Linked DNA regions of Homo sapiens: region 1 is linked to region 2. The links are contacts of gene promoters, found by promoter capture Hi-C in blood cells and fetal thymus (Javierre and others, 2016). All regions are on one chromosome and are shown on one strand. The core of a region is centred on a gene start or on the middle of the fragment in contact, and the rest is flanking DNA. Distances in the headings are between cores, read along the strand shown. Region 1 overlaps LRP12 (LDL receptor related protein 12). Region 2 holds the start of LRP12 (LDL receptor related protein 12).

Evidence for each region. Contacts are between HindIII fragments. The CHiCAGO score rates a contact against its expected background, and 5 or more counts as called.
Region 1: a fragment that was not itself captured here is called in contact with the fragment with the promoter of LRP12 in region 2 in 2 of 17 cell types (megakaryocytes and M2 macrophages); the score reaches 6.7 in megakaryocytes.

What each region holds. Positions count from the first base shown.
Region 1 is chr8:104,530,037-104,534,149 of GRCh38, reverse strand. LRP12 (LDL receptor related protein 12) reads left to right here. Exons shown (of 7, transcript NM_013437.5): 2 at 2,187-2,243. Among named protein-coding and RNA genes, the nearest start is that of MIR548A3, 48 kb to the right of the region's middle. The HindIII fragment of the contact is 1,132 bases long and covers 1,485-2,616 here.
Region 2 is chr8:104,587,619-104,591,759 of GRCh38, reverse strand. It overlaps LRP12 (LDL receptor related protein 12), which reads left to right and starts at 2,502. Exons shown (of 7, transcript NM_013437.5): 1 at 2,502-2,941. The coding sequence starts at 2,863. RefSeq lists silencers at 2,464-2,803, 3,234-3,343. The HindIII fragment of the contact is 14,799 bases long and covers 1-4,141 here.

The sequences.
Region 1 (4,113 bases), core at 801-3,300, 57 kb after region 2:
TTATTGAATATTTTATTATAAGGCTGTATCAGTTTATTCCTGTGCATGTTGATAATAGTTTTAGATTTTTTTTTTTTTTTTGCTATTATAAAGAATTTCACTAAGCCCTATAAGGTAGGTATTATCTCCATTTTAAAACATGAAATTGAGGCACAGAGAGATTGGGTAACTTGCCCTAAATTGCACAGCAAGAAGTAATGGAGCTGGTTTTAGAATCCTGGCAATATAGCTCAGAATCCACAATCTTCAATATTACATTATGCTGGTTTTTTGCCTTCTGTTTTTGCTCTGTTTACCAAACTGGAAAAAAGATTTCATGTTTAAAATATATCTAAACTGGGTGTGATAGTACACTCCTGTAGTCCCAGCTGCTCAGGAAGCTAAGGTAGGAGGATTGCTTGAGCCCAAGAGTTCTAGTCCAGCCTGGGCAACATAGTCAGACCCTGTCTCTTTTTTAAAAAAGTAAAATCTGATATTAAAACTCTCCTGGGCATAATATGCTATCTTACAGATACTGGAAACATTAGTATCACAAATTATGTAACTGTGATTTGTAGCAATGTATAATATAGAAGTAGAAGATTTAAGCCCAAACCTTGCCAGTGCTTCTTAAACTTTAATGTGCATATAGATCACTAAGTGTGCATATAAATTCAGATTCCATAATCTGGAATGAGCCTGAGTCTCTGCATTTCTAGCACACTCCCAAGGTGGCCAGTACTGCTAGTCTACTCGTGAGTAGCAAGGATTTAGGCAGTTTATACTGACCTTTGGCAAACCTTCTTAGGTGTTTTATTGAATCAGTTTCATGTTTTGTTTCTGCTGCCTGTTTTTATAATTTTTGTGTGGTAAAGAAATGGGTACAGTCTTTCTGGTCATTTCAATTCTGTATGTGTGACATTTAACAATAAATGAGAAAAAGAAATTGTGCCTTTTTTGGCATCAGTGCAGAGTACTTAAAATGAATATAATCATTTATTTGTATACTTAATATGGCCTTCCCACCTATCTCATCATTTCCACTGTTTCATTCTTAATTGAGGGAAATATAATGTATGTTTTCATTTTGAAGGGTATAACTGTAGTTGAACCAAAAATATTGTTTTATCACTGTTATTTTTTCTTTAGTAACAATAATATACTTTACACAGTTACAAAAATCAACACCTGTTCAATGCTATGTGCCAGGCACTATATCAAGTGCTTAATGGGCATGATTTCATTTTAATCATCAGGACATCCCTCATTCATCTTTCAGCTATTTGTGCGCCTCCTCTGTATCAGGAACTGTGCCTACAGTGGGGAGCCAAATAAACACAAATTCTGTTCTCCTACAGCTTAGTGCATTGGGGTGGGGGGTGCAATACAATATTCAAGCAATTATAGAAGTGTGATACTTGTAAACAAAAAGTTGTTAATTACAATATTTGCTATTTTCTCCACTCTCAACCATGAAAGAAAATTCTGCTTTTGCCTTCTAAGCTTTTTCTGACTAGCTTCCTTCCCCACCTGACTCCGAGGAGAATTCTTTGTCTGTTCGGTTTCTGAGCTGTTGTGATGCCAGATCCAACTAATGGGTAAAGAGAGAAACCTTTAGAACTAATGATGTATAAAATACAAAATTTTAAGACAAATATCTGAAGAGACATTGCTTACATTAATTTGAGGGAGTAAATATTCGCAATACTTAAGATTGTTAGAATTGTTGGTGAGAAAAATTTGAAAGATTTTTTTGAAGATTTAGAAGACAATGCAAGACTTTTTTTTTTTTTTTTTAAGTACCAACATATGTGGCCCTGACAGATATTACACCGACTTGTGGCTGATTTGGACACGCTTTTAGGGGAATGCTATTTTTAACAAGCTGTGTTCTCTTTTTTCTTGTAGCAGTACTGACTTCCCTTTTGATTATTAATTGATAGAAAATTCTTTCTGGTGTTGATCAGATCTATCTATTTGACCTTTATATATAACACTACCTTGTTGAGATTTCCAAAATGTTTGTTTTCCCCATTACTATTATGATTTTGAGCTTCCTAGTATTGTCTTGAAGATTATTATAAGAAACTTTAGCTTCTCTGTATTAAAAGGAACTCTATGTAGTTGTTTCTCTTTTAAAGGGAGGATCTGAAAAAATTTTGTAATTTTATCTTGGATATTAGTTTATTCATTATGTTTAATTTTAGGAAATGGTGCTCTTGCAGAACATTCTGAAAATGTGCATATTTCAGGAGTGTCAACTGGTAAGTCATTTTTTGTAATGTTTAAATTTCATGCATGACTTATATGGTAAATATTGAAAGCCACCTGGTATCTTACGAAGTGATATTTGGCTATAAAAATTATTACTGCTTTTTGCAGCATGTAATAAGGAATGAAGTAACTGGAACATGGAGAAATTCTCATAAGATAAAACTGATACTTGCATGCCCATGGATTGATTATACTTTTCCAAACGGACTGCATAATTATTTTTTCATACAAACATTGAACCTAGAGAAAAGTTAGCTCAAGTTGAATTAGTATTTTCTTTCCATACAAAGTTATGTGACATGAAATTTACTGAAATGTGATTTTGAATGCTATCCCTAGGATTAGAGCCTTAGAAATTAAGCTTTTTGCTTGATTTTTATAGTACTACTCTACATATAACTATTGTATTTGAGCGCACAGTTTATTTGCTGTTAAAAGCAACACAGTATACTTGTGTCCATGAAATTCAGAAATTCATCATTGTGGTTAATGTATTTTTTATACTCATCTAGGCTTTTATAACTTGTAATTACTTTATAACTTTATAATTACTTAAAGACTTATAACTACTAAAATTTTTATTCTTAGGCCACTTCCACAGCTCCGTTACCATTTTTGCTGTCAACCACAGTTACTAGGAGAACTAAAATATTTATTTTTGCATATATTGAAATAGGTTTTCTTACTGTTCATTTATTATTTCCCTATATTGATAAGTTTTGTGTGGTTAAAACTGTACTTAGTGTATTTATCAATCCATTGATTAACTTCTTTGTGTCATCTTGTAATTTGTTTGGTTCTTTTTTCCTCACATGAAGCAAATCCTGTTCTTTTGTTTTATGTCTGACTTTGTATTCAGAAAGTTAATAGACTTAACAAATACTCTAAGGGTTAGTGTGCCCTAGTCAAACACATCAAGCCCAACAAGCCTAGTTTCCTGAAAACGCAAAGCAAGTGCTTCAGTGCCTGCATCAATTTTTTTTCATAGTTTGTTTCACTTTTTTAAAAATACATTCTCAAATGATATATAATTGTATTTATCAAATAACAGTAAGGTTATTTTAAAGATGGCCTTCTCCCTTTTTCTTTGCATTTTGAATAGTTAATGAGAATTATAATTACTTTTCCAAGTTGTAACTATAAAGTATGTTTGTTTACAAACATTTTAATTTATACAACCAAATGGTTACTGTTTAATTTAGTAGTTTTCAAAAGTTTTGGTCTCAGGACCCATTATAAACTTTTAAAAACTACTGAGGCCTGTTTTAGTCTACGTGTGCTGCTGCAACAAAATACTACTGTGGATGGCTTAAATAACAGACATCAGTTTTTCTCACAGTTCTGAAAGTCCAACATCAAAGTGCTGGCAGGGTTGGTCCCTGGTGAGACCTCTTTTCCTGGCCTGTAGATGGCCACCTTCTCATTGTGTCCTCACATGGCCTTTTTTCTATGAATGTTCAGAGAAAGCAAGAGGTCTCTTGTGCCTCTTCTTCTAATAAGAACATGAGTCCTATGGTATTAGGGTCCCATCCTTATGACCTCATTTAACCTCAGTTACCTCCTTAAAGGCTGTGTCTCCAAATACAGTCACATTGGGAGTTAGGGCTTCCACATATGGGCTTGAGGGGGGACACAATTCAGTCTGTAACAAGGACTTAAAAGAGTTTTTGTTTATATGGGCTACAGCTACCAATATTTACTATGTTAGAAATTAAAACTGAGAATTTGTTTTAAAACTCATTAGTTCAATTAAAAATAACAGTAACCTATTGCATGTTTACATCAATATGTAGTATGGTTTTATGAAAAATATATATTTCAAAACAAAAAACAATAAGAACAGCATTGTTTTATAATTTT
Region 2 (4,141 bases), core at 1,253-3,752:
GGGTGGTGGGGGGTTAGCGGGGTGTCACTAAGACTATTTCAGGAAAGTACATGAGGTTCTCCCTTTGCCAATTTATATATTACATGAGTCTAGATTTTCTTCATATACTTCAACCAAAACAACATATTGCAACAGATTGGATGCAGAAGCAGATATGAGAATCCAGCTGTCTTCTATTAAACCAGCCATTAGGGAGATTTATAAAAGTGCAAAAACAAAGCCACTCTTCTTAACTTTTTGTGTTTGTTTTGGAAAGCAGAGTTATGTAAACTTGTAATGCATGTTTTATTTTAAATGAATTTAAAATAAATTCTTTTTTTTCTATTTTAATTTCTAAATGCTAAATATCAATAGCTATGACCCACATAAATAAAAGTTCTTTGGTGTCCTCACCAAATTGTAAGTGTTATGGGGGGTCCAGATACCCAAAAGTTTGATAACCTGGCAAGTCTGAGAAGACACATCTGGGTGGATGAGCAAGTGTAGGGGTGGGAGGGGTGTGACAGGAACTGATGAGGGCACTGTGTGTCTCGTGTTCGGGACAGGATTCCTTGAATGGTACTAAAAGTGGACAGGGGAGGATGCAGTCCAGTCTACTCCTTCACTCTGCTTGTGGCCTGTTCTTAACACAGCTCTCATGGAAGCGCAATTTAGAGAAAGCAATCTTAAGAAACAAGAAAGTAGAGTTTAGAATCCCAAAATTAGGAAAGACAACTGCAATTTGTTTAGTGAAAAACACTGAAGTTGCTTCTTTCCAACAAGAATGGAAAACATTTTTGGAGTGCTGGTTGCTTTTTTTACCAGATGATATAAGATTTGTTAATTATTAGATTTTTGTAATACTTATTAATACATTTTTCTCTTATCTTTTGGAATAGCATTTCCTGGTTTTAAAAAAAAAAACTTAAAAGGGGGCAAATCGGCAGGAGACTGAGGAAAAGCCTAAATGTATTCCCCAGAAAGTATGTTTTAAATTTTAACATTTACTTACTGAGAGGTGAGGCCAGCTGAACTTCCTGGGTCCAGTGGGGACTTGAGGAACTTTCCTGTCTTACAAGAGGATTGTAAAATGCACCAATCAGCGCTCTGTAAAATGCACCAATCAGCACTCTGTAAAACGCACCAATCAGCAGGATTCCAAAAGTAGCCAATCGCAGGGAGGATTGAAAGAGGGGCACTCCGATAGGACAGAAATGGAACATGGGAGGGGACCACAAGGGAATAAAAGCTGGCCACCACCAGCCAGCACCTGGGGTTCTCTTCCATGCTGTGGAAGCTGTCCTTTTGCTCTTCGCAATAAACCTTGCTACCGCTCACTCTTTGAGTCCGTGCCATCTTTAAGAGCTGTTAACAGTCACCGGGAAGGTCTGCAGCTTCATTCTTGAAGTCAGGGAGACCACGAACCCCCTGGCAGGCACCAACTCCGACACATTACTAGGCGCTAAGCATTGTGCTAGAGAGTTTGCTGTGGTATAGGGGCAACAATCTTTACTTTGGAATGAGAAAAACTGTTTCAAACAACTTACTTGCCATGAGTAATTTAATTTCTCTCTTTTCTATAAAACATGGGTAATATTTATCTCACAAGGATGTTTGGGATTAAAAAGTGACAACCTATGTCAATAGGACAGCATGATGCAGTGTAGGTCTTCAATGAATAGCATGGAGAGTGCTTGCAAAGGGCAACGATAAAATCTAATATAAATAAGACGTTGTAGACAAACGCTTTAAAAACACAGGGGGTAAGGTCTGATGTGCCAGCGTCACTACAGACGTACTTAGAAAAGTGTTCTGGGGATCTAAGTAAAGGAGGACTCCCATTTGCTGGGAGTGAGAAAAGAGCTTTAGGGAAACTGCAGCGTGATGGGCGAATCCTCCTTTCAATATATCTACCCTGAAAGTCGGCTCCAGCCCTGCCGAACATCCTGGCCCAGCTGCACCCGACCCAGCGTGAGATGTCAAATGACCTCTTGGCGCTTCCACGCCAGACTGGAGGGGCTCTGCACAAGCCTTGCCCGACTCATTCCGGGCACCTTGAGCGTGGGAGTCCACACTGCCCCTTGACCGACCAGCTGCCAGGTTGGCCGCACTAACTTGAGCCCACCCCCACTCGAAGCTCCGCGCCGACAGCAAGTGGAGACTTGGGGGTACCGGATAGAGGAAGGAACTCCCAAGTTGTCAGCTTCAGACCATCCACGCCTCCCCCAACACGGAACCACCTTCAGCCTCCCAGCTGGTATCCCACCCCCCCTCCCCCCACCCGCTGGGCCAGAGCCCAGCCCTCGGACAGCGACCGTGCTCCTCCACACACCCCGCGCTCCAGCCCCTGGGCATCCAGCAGCCGGCGTTCGCACGCTCTGTCATCGATTGGCGCTGCCTTGCTCCTTGGGCTCCCGTCGCGTGGAAATCGGCCCGAAACTTGGAAAGTCCAGCGGAGCGCGGGGAGGGAACCGAGGCAGGCGGGCCAGGGGATTGCCGATCGCACGGATGGGCGCGCGCTCAGTCTGGCGAGTGGCGGCGCCGGCTAGCCCGAGCGGCGCGAGGCCGGAGTCCGGCGTCCGCCACCCTCTCGTCTCGCGCTGGCGCGCGAGCTCCTTGCCCTTGCCCCCAGGAGGGCCGCCCCGCGTGGGGCTCTCGCACCGCCCGGGGTGGGAGCAGGCGAGCCGGAGGGAGGAGGGAGGAGGGAGCGCGCGCGGGCGGCGGCGGCCCCTCCCTTCCCCCTCCCGCAGCCGCGGAGAGCGCAGGGAGCAGCCGGTGGCTCGGCGGCGGCGGCGGCGGCGGCGGCGGCGTCGGCGTCGTCTACCTCCAGCTTCTCCTCCCTCCTCCTCCGTCTCCTCCTCTCTCTCTCCATCTGCTGTGGTTATGGCCTGTCGCTGGAGCACAAAAGAGTCTCCGCGGTGGAGGTCTGCGTTGCTCTTGCTTTTCCTCGCTGGGGTGTACGGTAAGTGTCCGCGTCCCCGCGCCCCGCTGACCGAACAAAGCTGAGGCGACCCGGGCCCCGAGGCCTCCAGGACGGGGGTTCCCCTGGAGACTCCCGCGGAGACCCTGGCTACCGGCGGGACAAAGACCGGTGAGGGGGTGGATGTGGCGGAACGGGTGTCCCCACACGGAGATGCTTTTCTCCACTCGTCCACCTCCAGACCCTCGGGTGGTGGAGAGGGGCTGGGGGGCCCGGCCGGGAGGGCCCCGGCGGAGCGAGGGGGTGGCGGGCGGACTTCCCGACCTGGGTTCGAGGGCCCCCGCGGCCAGTTGCTCCAGGACCCGTAGCCTGGCACAATCCACACACAAAGATGCTTGACTGTGAGAAAGCAGAGGAGCTCGCCCCCGCCGCTGCCGGGACGGTCCTTCCCCCCGCCCCCTCAACCCGGGGTTAGGAAGTTCTCTCACCGGCGAGATTCCCACCGCGCCAGCCCTTGTCCTACTCGATTCCCTGAAAAGGCTTCCCGCTGACTTCTCCCCACTCCACCTCGGGGGCAAGGGCTCTGCCGAATCCGGGCGTGCAGGGTCCTGTTGGTTCCCCGGGAGCAGCACGCGGGAGAAGGCCAGAAAATAGTTTCCAGCCCCACCTCAGTCTCTCCTGTTAGGGTGTACACATCTGTCCTGACTCCTAGTTCAATTGTAATTTCATCCATCCTCGTCCGCCGCTGTGGTCACTGTTACTTTATTCCAGTCGATGGATCGGGTTAGAGATAACTCCTTTCGGGTTAAGAGAAGGCTGAAGACTGTGCGGACAGCTTTATATTGCGTTGGGGTCTGAGCAAGAGCTGAATGGAATTAATTGCAAAGAACATCTATCTCTTAAGATAATTAAGTTACACTTCTGACTTCACCGTTCTTAGTTCATCAGTTAAACACACTGAATAGGTATTTCAGAGAGCTCAGTTTTAACCTTTCCTTTTTGGAGTGTTGCTCTGATTTCTCCAGAAAAAGAATTAGAAGATATCATTACTTTGGTAAATTTTACTTATAAAAAGTCTAATTCATTTGCCACAAACATTGATTTGACTAGTATAATGGTGGTGGTGGTGAGGTTTAGTCAACAGCCAATTTGTCAGCAAGTGTTATCTCTTTTGAAGGCATTTATCTACGGAATTGAATGTGATGGTGGCTTTTGAAACCTGGCAAGTGACGCTAAATGAAG